Regions from separate parts of the Homo sapiens genome. Here region 2 is linked to region 1. Evidence: promoter capture Hi-C in 16 types of primary human blood cells and fetal thymus (Javierre and others, 2016). All regions are on one chromosome and are shown on one strand. The core of a region is centred on a gene start or on the middle of the fragment in contact, and the rest is flanking DNA. Distances in the headings are between cores, read along the strand shown.

Region 1 (4,663 bases), core at 1,126-3,625:
TGACAGAAGAGACTCTGTCTCAAAAAAAAAAAAAAAAGAAAGAAAGAAGCAGAATTGGAAAACATAGGCAAGAAAGTCGACAAAGCTTCTCTTTCACAGAGCTGTGTTATCATGGGACTTAGGGAAACAGAGTTTTCTGAAAAGGAATTTTCTGCCTCTCATACTAGGCTTTCTCCCCATAAGGCTCATTTAATTGTATTATATTCTTTATATGCCACTAAACCCTGAAATTAAATATCATCCTTATTAAATTTCTCTAGTTTTCTAGTTTCTAGATTTGAGAGGTTTGGCTTTACTTCTTTAAAAAGAAAGAAGGGCCGGGTGTGGTGGCTCATGCCTGTAATCCCAGCCTTTGGGAGGCCGAGACAGGCAAATCACTTGAGCTCAGGAGTCCAAGACCAGCCTGGGTAACATAGCAAAACCTCATCTCTACAAAAAAATACAAAAATTAGCTGGGCATGGTGGTGCATGCCTATGGTCCCAGTCAGTCAGGAGGCTGAGGTGGGAGGATGGCTTGAGCCCTGGAGGTGGATGGAGGCTGCAGTGAGCAGTGATTGCACCACTGCACTCCAGCCTGATTACCAGAGTGAGACCCTGTCTCAAAAAAAAAAAAAAAAAAAAAAAAATTTAAAAGAAAGTTCTCCTCATATTACTCCCCACACTAACATTCTTCCACAGCACTGCACTATTAAAATTCTTCATTTATATTTAAAACCTTCAGTATCCAACTGCATCCCACTACCTAGAACAATGTTCAACCACATCTTCACATTTAACCACAAACCCTATCCTATAGCCCCATCTATCTGTCATTTCCTATCTTCTTACCTCCATGCTTTTAAGTTTCCTCTTAGTATGCCCTCTGACCCTCTACATATCTAGATCCTAATTATTCTTTGAGGCCCAACTCAAGTGGCTCCTTCTCTTTATTTCAAAGTCTTTCTAGATCCCCTCAGTCAGAGACTAGTATCTCCCTTTCTCTGAATTTCTGTATCTCTTATTCAGTCTACAGCCTTCTATTACATACTCTATTTTTGCATATATGGGTTTCCTTCAATATCAGTTTGAAGACTAGAGTCACTCTCTTCCAAAGTTGTATCTCCAGTGCCCTACCATCCCTAGATTATGTGGACAGAGATCTGGCAGGACAGGGATGTGGTCTGCTTTGTGGAGATCATTTTACTCACAATTATCATCTGCCTGGAGGCTGATTAGGTAAGTCCTGCCTCTAGTAAGAGAGGTCAACCAAATTAGCTCCCAGAGTATTTCCTAACCCTGGCTTCCTTCTACTGGCCTATAATCCTTACTTGAATTATATTTGTATTCTATGGTTAGATCTCTCAATATTATATCCAGTCTTTTCGGTTTTCAAAAACAATACAACATAATTAAAAAAACAAACAAACAAAAAGTTGTAAGGCAATTGTGAAGTGGTGGAAAGTGCATTACGGTTAGAACCAGTAGGCACAGCCTTTGCTTTTTGGCTCTGTTCCTTACTGGCAGTGTGACCTCCAGGTAGTTCTTTAACCTTTGTTTCCTCATTTGTACAATAAAGATGGCCCCAAGGGTTAAACAGAAAATATTTAATATGCAACATGGAAGAGTGTGTATGTGTGTGTGTGCGTTATGTGTGTGTACACAAGGCCTTGCTACAAGAAGCCAATCTCGTTCTCTTCTTTCGGGGACCTCTGCTTACTGACTTTGCCGGATAGAGTGGCTGTGACCTTGGGCCAGTCCCCAACTCGACTGTCACCCACAAGCGCCCTCAGCGGTAGCAAGAGTGCGTGTCCAGGAGCTAGAGAACGAGGCTCTAGTAGTGCAATCAGGCCAGCTTTGCTTCCTAACCAGGCACCCTAGACTTGTGGTCTCCCCACAAGTCTTGGAATGGTTACTAAGACGTAGGCCACACGTGGAGAATGAAGCTTTTAAGACCTCTGGGTTCGGCTTGCCCCAGGTTTACGAAGAGCCCAGTTCCCAGAAAGACCCACACCCCCCACGTGACTTAGGACCCCGAAGAAAGCGCCTGCTACGCCCCGGACAAGATCTGGCCAAAAACAAACAAACAAACAAACAAAAAAAAAGGTCTCCCCTCCCAGCCCTCAGGTGAGGCCATCATCCCCGCACCCCTCAGCTCCGGCCTGCACCTATAACGCCAAATGCTGTGCTGGGTAAAATTAATTACCATAAACTTCTAGCGCTTTCTCTTCCATGATCCGGGGCTGCCGGGCAGCTCCCGGCTCAGAGAGGCCGGAGAGCCACAGGACTCTGCTCAGCGTCCAGGAGAGCAGCCCGGACACCCGCTGCATCTTCACGCTCAGCCATCCCTGGCGACTGTCCCAATCGCGCCACCGTCTCTCAGCAGCCTCGGGATTGATCAACTTCCTGGTCTTCAAATGGGCCGAGACAAGCCTAAAGGTTCAGGAGAGCAGAGAAAAGGCGGGGCCAGACGGAGTAGCTCGAAGGACCTAGGGAAGGGGCCTCAAGGACTACAAGTTCCAGCGTGCTTTGCTCGATTTCGGCGGGACAAAAACAATCTTCGCGGCTCGTCAGCACATTGCATGCTGGGATGCGTGAGCTATTTTCTTCGGAAGGCAGCGAATTGTATTCTGGGACTTGTAGTGTCCGCCTGGTAGAAGTGGATGTAACGGTCTGTTAACCGCGACTGACTCACTCAGTATCCGTGATAAGTTAAAGATGAATCCTGAAGGGGTAGGGGAAAGGAGATCTTGAGTTCTCCAGCACGGAGACTCTTTACAATTATTTCTCCGCGGGATCCGCTGACAGCCAACGTCTTTCTTACTTCCTGATCGGACAGGAAGTAGGTTTCAGTTGCTGTGAAAAGGGATGTCATGGGAAGCCAGTGAGGTAGTCAGGTATGGCATGGGGAGGGCTTTTTGGCTTTCTCGTCTCCTAAGGGACTCAGTCCAGCACAGCTTCCCACCTTTGAACGAATATTTCTGCTAATGGCCTCCAAAGACAACTTAGAACATAAGTTTTCCCGTGTCTAATGTGTACAGTGGTGACATAATGGAGATCGCCATCCTTAAAAGTGTATCTTGGCCGGGCGCGATGGCTCACGCCTATAATCCCAGCACTTTGGGAGGCCGAGGCGGGCGGATCACCTGAGGTCAGGAGTTCGAGACCAGCCTGGCCAACATGGGCAAACCCCGTCTCTACTAAAAAATACAAAAATTAGCTGGGCGTGGTGGCAGGGGCCTTAATCCCAGCTACTTGGGAGGCAGAGGCAGGAGAATCGTTTGAACTCAGGAGGCAGAGGTTGCAGTGAACCAAGATCGAGCCATTGCACTCAAGCCTGGGGGAGAAGAGCGAGACTTCCCTCAAAAAAAAAAAAAAAAAAAAAAGTGTATCTTAAGCCCTCTGGTGTTCGTGGGTGTGATGGATGCCAGTAACAAAATCGATTTTATTTTATCCATCCATCCCTCCGATCAAATTTGTAGGTACTAATTTGCCATAGGTGATCCATAGGCATGGAAGATACAAAGATAAAACGCTGCCCCCGCCTTCAAACAGCTCACATGACCTGTGAGGGAGTCCATCCCTGAATTTGCAGTTACAACCAAACTAACTAAACCTCTTGTCAAAGTTGGTGACAAATGCCATTTCTATTGAGAAGATAGGATTATCTTGCAGAATTGTCCCATGCTAACATGCCCATTTATCTTTAAACTCCAGTCTTGTTTGTCTAGTTAATGTAGGCCTTAGGATCACCAGACAATGAATTGCTTAGGTCCCAAGGAAATTTTGGTCAGGGTTCAATAATTTCCCTGCCGTCTATTCCACTCCACTTACTCCACAGCAATTGAGAGGATAATCCTAACATTTTTCCAGCCAAATCTAGGACACTGAGGCCTCACTTCATCTGTGAGGCCTCCCTACTTCTCCAAGCAGAATTGATTATCTCTTTCCCTGTGCTCCCACAGGGCACCATAGCATTGAACATGTCGAACTGTCGATTAAATACCTGATTTCTGTATCTGAAACTCACAGCAAGGTGCCAGGCATACAGTAGATGCTCAGTATCTGTATTTCTTAATGAATTAACTGAATGTTGCTCAAGGAATAAGTGGTGAAGCTTTCTTCTAGTCTTGTTCAGATACCTCAATCGAAATATTTATTGACTCTCTGTGAGGGCATTGTGCTTGGCATGGGTAGATGGCATGTAGAGGTTTTCAAACATTTTAGTGACACTCCTTCATTCAGACGAACTCTTAGAAGCCTGTTGGATAAAGCTATCCAGAGCACAAAGGGCCCTAGAAACCTGAGCAGCCCCTAACTCCTACTTTTCTGCCCCTTTGGCCCCACTCGTTAATATCTCAGCATCGCGAACCAGGCCTCGGATTTGCTGCGCAGCCTCAGCTGGCCGGGTGCCGCCCCGCCCCCAGCGCCTAAGCCCCGCCCCTAGGTCTCCGCCCCTCGGATCCCACGGGGTCCCTTGCGGCCCTCCCACTCCTCGCACCGTTGGATCGCTTTGCTCACGGCGCTATCTCTCGATAAAGTTGTTGTTGCGGCTTCCGCCGCGGGTGGAAGAAGATGGCGTCGGGTGGTGGTGGCTGTAGCGCTTCGGAGAGACTGCCTCCGCCCTTCCCCGGCCTGGAGCCGGAGTCCGAGGGGGCGGCCGGGGGATCAGAACCCGAGGCTGGGG
Region 2 (4,587 bases), core at 35-2,534, 1.1 Mb after region 1:
TGAGTTCCCTACGGCAAGCGTCTAGCCCCAACTGGGGCGACTACAGGTCCCGACGCTCAAGGTTGCCAAAAGCCCTTTTATCCTAAAGTTGAAAGGTTTTGCGATAGACGCGGAGAGATGCATGCCGGGACTTGTAGTCCCGAGTCGTCATAGTCGAGCTCTTCCGGTCACTTTTAGTGGGCGGCAGGGAAGGTCAAGGTGAGGCTGGTGGCTTAACCCTCCAGGGGGAAGTCTCTAAAGTGCCTTGGTAGGCGCTGGATGCTTCAGATTCACTAAATTTCTTCCCCCGGAATTCCACATCCTGTGTTCCTTATCTTCTCATTCTCCTTAGTTTCATCACTTGTAACATGGAGTTGGTATTGTCAGTTAGTTCCCTGAGCAGCAATTGTTAGTTGGTAACAGCTCCGTCTCCTTGTTCTTTCAGGCCTCGTGGTGATAAAGCTTCTAGCTGTTGCTAGTCCGTGGGTGCTTTAAAGTCTTGAGGGTTTTCTTTTCTTTCTTTCTTTTTTTTAATTTAGTAAAGATGAGGTCTCCCTATGTTGCCCAGGCTGGTCTCAAACTCCTGGGCTCAAGTGATCCTCTCGCCTCGCCCTCCCAAAGTGCTGGGATTACAGGCGTGAGCCACCGCACCCGGCCGTGATTAAGGATGGCACTGCATAGATAACCTCTGGTCAGGTTCCTATCAGGCCATCCTCTCAAGTTATGAATTCAAAAGCACAGAGCCGGCTGGGCGTGGTGGCTCACACCTGTAATCCCAGCACTTTGGGAGGCCGAGGCAGGTGGATCACGAGGTCAGGAGTTTGCGACCAGCCTGACCCACATGGTGAAACCCCATCTCTACTAAAAATACAAAAATTAGGTAGGTGTGGTGGCGTACTCCTGTAATCCCAGCTACTCAGGAGGCTGAGGTGGGAGAATTGCTTGAACCCAGGAGGCGAAGGTTGCAGTGAGCCGATATCGTGCCATTGCACTCCAGCCTGGGCGACAGAGCGAGACTCCGTCTCAAAAAAAAAAAAAAAAAACCCAGAGCCATCTGAGATTATCCCTGTGAGAAAATGGATCCTTCACCAGGAAAGTGATGGCAAATACTTGTGGTCACATCAGCCCTTCCACATCACACCTACTTTCAGCTGTTTTCTGACAGATTAATGACGCTTTAAAAAGAAAGTCAAGTGCAGTTTTCCAGCTCAAATAGTTTACACTGGAGGAGTTAACTCCTTGAGTTATTTACTTTTTGCGAACTACATAGCTGAAGGCACATAACTTTTTTTTTGAGACAGAGTCTCCATCTGTCACCCAGGCTGAAGTGCAGTGGCACCATCTCAGCTCACTGCAACCTCTGCCTCCTGGGTTCAAGTGATTCTCCTGCCTCAGCCTCCTGAGTAGCTGGGATTACAGGCATGCGTCACCATGCCCGGTTAATTTTTGTATTTTTAGTAGAGGCAGAGTTTCACTATGTTGGCCGTGTTAGTTTCAAACCCCTGACCTCAAGTGATCCGCCTGCCTCAGCCTCCCAAAGTGCTGGGATTACAGGCATGAGCCATTGCACCCAGTCAGGCACATAACTTTTTATGTCTTCATTTTATGTAAAACTTTTTCTTTTGTCTTTTTTTTTTTTTTTTTTTTGAGATGGAGTCTCACTCTGTGGCCAGGCTGGAGCGCAGTGGTGCGATCCTGGCTCACTGTAACCTCTGGCTCCTCGGTTCAAGCGATTCTCCTACCTCAGCCTCCTGAGTAGCTGGGACTACAGGCGCACACCACCACGCCCAGCTAGTTTTTGTATTTTTAGTAGAGACGGGGTTTCACCATGTTGGCCAGGATGGTTTTGATCTATTGACCTCATGATCCGCCTGCCTTGGCCTCCCAAAGTGTTGGGATTACAGGTGTGAGCCACCATGCAGGCCCTCTTTTTCTTTTATACTTGATTTTACCTCCCAGCATTATGAGTTGCTATAAGAAATATTTTAATAAATTAGAGTCCATGAGTCTTAACTCACTCAATATTAACCCTGATTTTTTTAGATGAGGAAACAGGCCTATTGAAAAGGCAGATACTTGACCAGGGTCACATAACAAGTGAAAAACAGAGAATAGAGCTGGAGTCTTCTGGCTTTAAAACTGTATTTCTCAAGCTTTTCTTTTTTAACCCAAGACTCTTTTCGATAAACATAAAAATCTCACTTCTCGGCCAGGCGCAGTTTCTCACGCCTGTAATCCCAGCACTTTGGGAGGCCAAGGCAGGTGGATCACCTGAGGTCAGGAGTTCCAGACTGGCCTGGCCAACATGGTGAAACCCCGTCTCTACTAAAAATACAAAAATTAGCCGGGTGTGGTGGCGCACGCCTGTGATCCCAGCTACTCGGGAGGCTAAGGCAGGAGAATCGCTTGAACCTGGGAGGCAGAGGTTGCAGTGAGCTGAGATCGTGACAATGCACTCCAGCCTGGGTGACAAAGCAAGTCTCCATCTCAACAACAACAACAAAAAATCTCGCTTCTCCTCTCCTCCACCAGAAATTCTGGCACATCTTCTCAGAGAGTCATCATTCTTTTGGGAATCTTTGTATCCTCTGAATAAAGACTTTTTTTTTCATGGCCAAACCCTGCTCCTTCATATCAGCAGACATTGATTATCCCTGGAAGGATATAAATATAAATATTGAGGAACTCAGTATTTTAAAAGATAAGGACCTGCATCTGTAGGTGGTGCGAACTCAAGATAATATTAACACATCGTATTGAACTTTATAACTTACAAAGGGTTTTCACATCCACTTTCTCATTTGATTATTACAACAACCAAATGATATATTGTTATTATCAGCATTCCAGTTTTGAAGCTGAGAAAATCAAGACACAGAGAGTTTAAGTGACTTGCCCAAGGTCACAGCAGAACCCAGACTTAAATCCAAATCACCATATGGGTTTCCATTACTTCTCTATATCTTATTCCAAAAGCTGATGAGATTTTAGGGGTCTGCAGAATCTCTACCCCCTACCCAGGAACATCTCACATCAAGGAATAAAAATCTGCCCTCCTATTAAGGAAGTGACCCACCATCTTTCCTTTACTTAAGAATTACTTTGGTTGTAGCCGGGCGCGGTGGCTCAGGCCTGTAGTCCCAGCACTTTGGAGGCTGAGGCTGGCGGATCACGAGGTCAGGAGTTCAAGACCAGCCTGGCCAACCTGGTGAACCCCGTCTCTAAAAATACAAAAATTAGCTGGGCACAGTGATGTGTGCCTGTAGTCCCAGCTACTCAGGAAGCTGAGGCAGGAAAATCGCTTGAACCTGGGAAGCGGAGGTTGCAGTGAGCCGAGATCATGCCACTGCACTCCAGCCTGGGCAGCAAAGTGAGACTCTGGCTCAAAAAAAAAAAAAAAAAAAGAATTACTTTGGTTGTTTGTTAAAATACATTAGGCCCCTCTCCTAAAGATTTTGACAAAATAGTCTGGAGGAGGGCTCAGGAATCTGTTTTTATTGCTGGATGCTAGAATCAGGAGATGCTAAGATTTATTTGCAGAAATGATATGTTTCCACTGTGCTGATAGAAGTCTGGACCTTTTTTTCTCAAGGTCTCTTTTAGGCTCCTTCCAACTGCTACTACTTTCTTCCTCAGGGAGTCACTGCCCAACCTTGGTATTGTAGGGTGACCAAGAGGACTACAGCGAGGCGCTCATCATTTTCCTGGGCCTGCCCTTGGGGGCTGGAGGTAACCTTAGATAGCATGAGATCCCCCTTGTCCTCAATTAGACTGCCTCTTGTTCCTCATCCTGATGTTCAGGGAGATGGTCAGCAGATGGTGCTAACTTACCACCCTTCCCTCTGAATCCTTTGGGGGCATTCTTAAAATTAATCCAGTGGAACTTTCAGTGTATCAAATCTTGAAGACAGTGCTAGGGAATTCTTGTTTGTATTTACTAAAGGGCACAGACGTCAGGAGTAGAAGGACTGGTGTGTGAATCCCAGCTGAGTTCCTTAACAGCCATGTGACCTCTGGTAAGTAAGTTAATTCCATAAGCCTGTTTTCCACTATAAATTGGGGTGCTCTTGACCTCCTAGAATTAATGTGAGGAATAAATGATCCCTTGGCACTTGCTATAGTGAGTAGGTGCTTACTAAGTAATAAAGATATTTTCCTGTGCAATGTTGTGAATTATGGATTTCCCTTTATGCCTTTAAAAATTCCTTTAAATAAAAAAATCAAAAAATATAAACAATGAGTTGCATACAAAATAAATAAAAAAATAAAAATAAAAAATTACTTTTTCGGTCATGCTTCTTAGCCAGCTAGTTGAGGATCTTACCCTATTCACAGTACTTTAGCATTGTGAGGAACTTGCTTGATTTCAAATGAAACACTTAAAAAGAGATGAAAGAGAGAATATGAACTCTTGGCTTATAAGTCCTTTCCAATTTCCAATTTCCAATTCATGTGCATTAACCATAATATTAGATAATAAAAGTGATTAACAATTATAATCACCCACTGGCTAGGGCCGGGCACAGTGGCTCATGCCTGTAATCCCAGCATTTTGGGAGGCCGAGGCGGGTGGATCACAAGGTCAGGAGATCGAGACCATCCTGGCTA

The links. Contacts are between HindIII fragments. The CHiCAGO score rates a contact against its expected background, and 5 or more counts as called.
Region 2: a contact is called between a fragment that was not itself captured here and the fragment with the promoter of CIAO2A in region 1, in 1 of 17 cell types (fetal thymus). The highest score is 5.3, in fetal thymus.

The regions. Positions count from the first base shown.
Region 1 is chr15:64,091,463-64,096,125 of GRCh38, forward strand. CIAO2A (cytosolic iron-sulfur assembly component 2A) reads right to left here and starts at 2,376. Exons shown (of 5, transcript NM_032231.7): 1 at 2,183-2,376. The coding sequence starts at 2,306. It overlaps SNX1 (sorting nexin 1), which reads left to right and starts at 4,520. Exons shown (of 15, transcript NM_003099.5): 1 at 4,520-4,663. The coding sequence starts at 4,552. RefSeq lists enhancers at 1,451-2,013, 1,649-1,698, 2,059-2,788, 4,504-4,623. The HindIII fragment of the contact is 2,171 bases long and covers 1,921-4,091 here.
Region 2 is chr15:65,185,535-65,190,121 of GRCh38, forward strand. LOC124903509 (a long non-coding RNA gene) reads left to right here and starts at 3,461. Exons shown (of 2, transcript XR_007064683.1): 1 at 3,461-3,708; 2 at 3,923-4,213. RefSeq lists an enhancer at 1-325 and a silencer at 1-56. The HindIII fragment of the contact is 1,691 bases long and covers 440-2,130 here.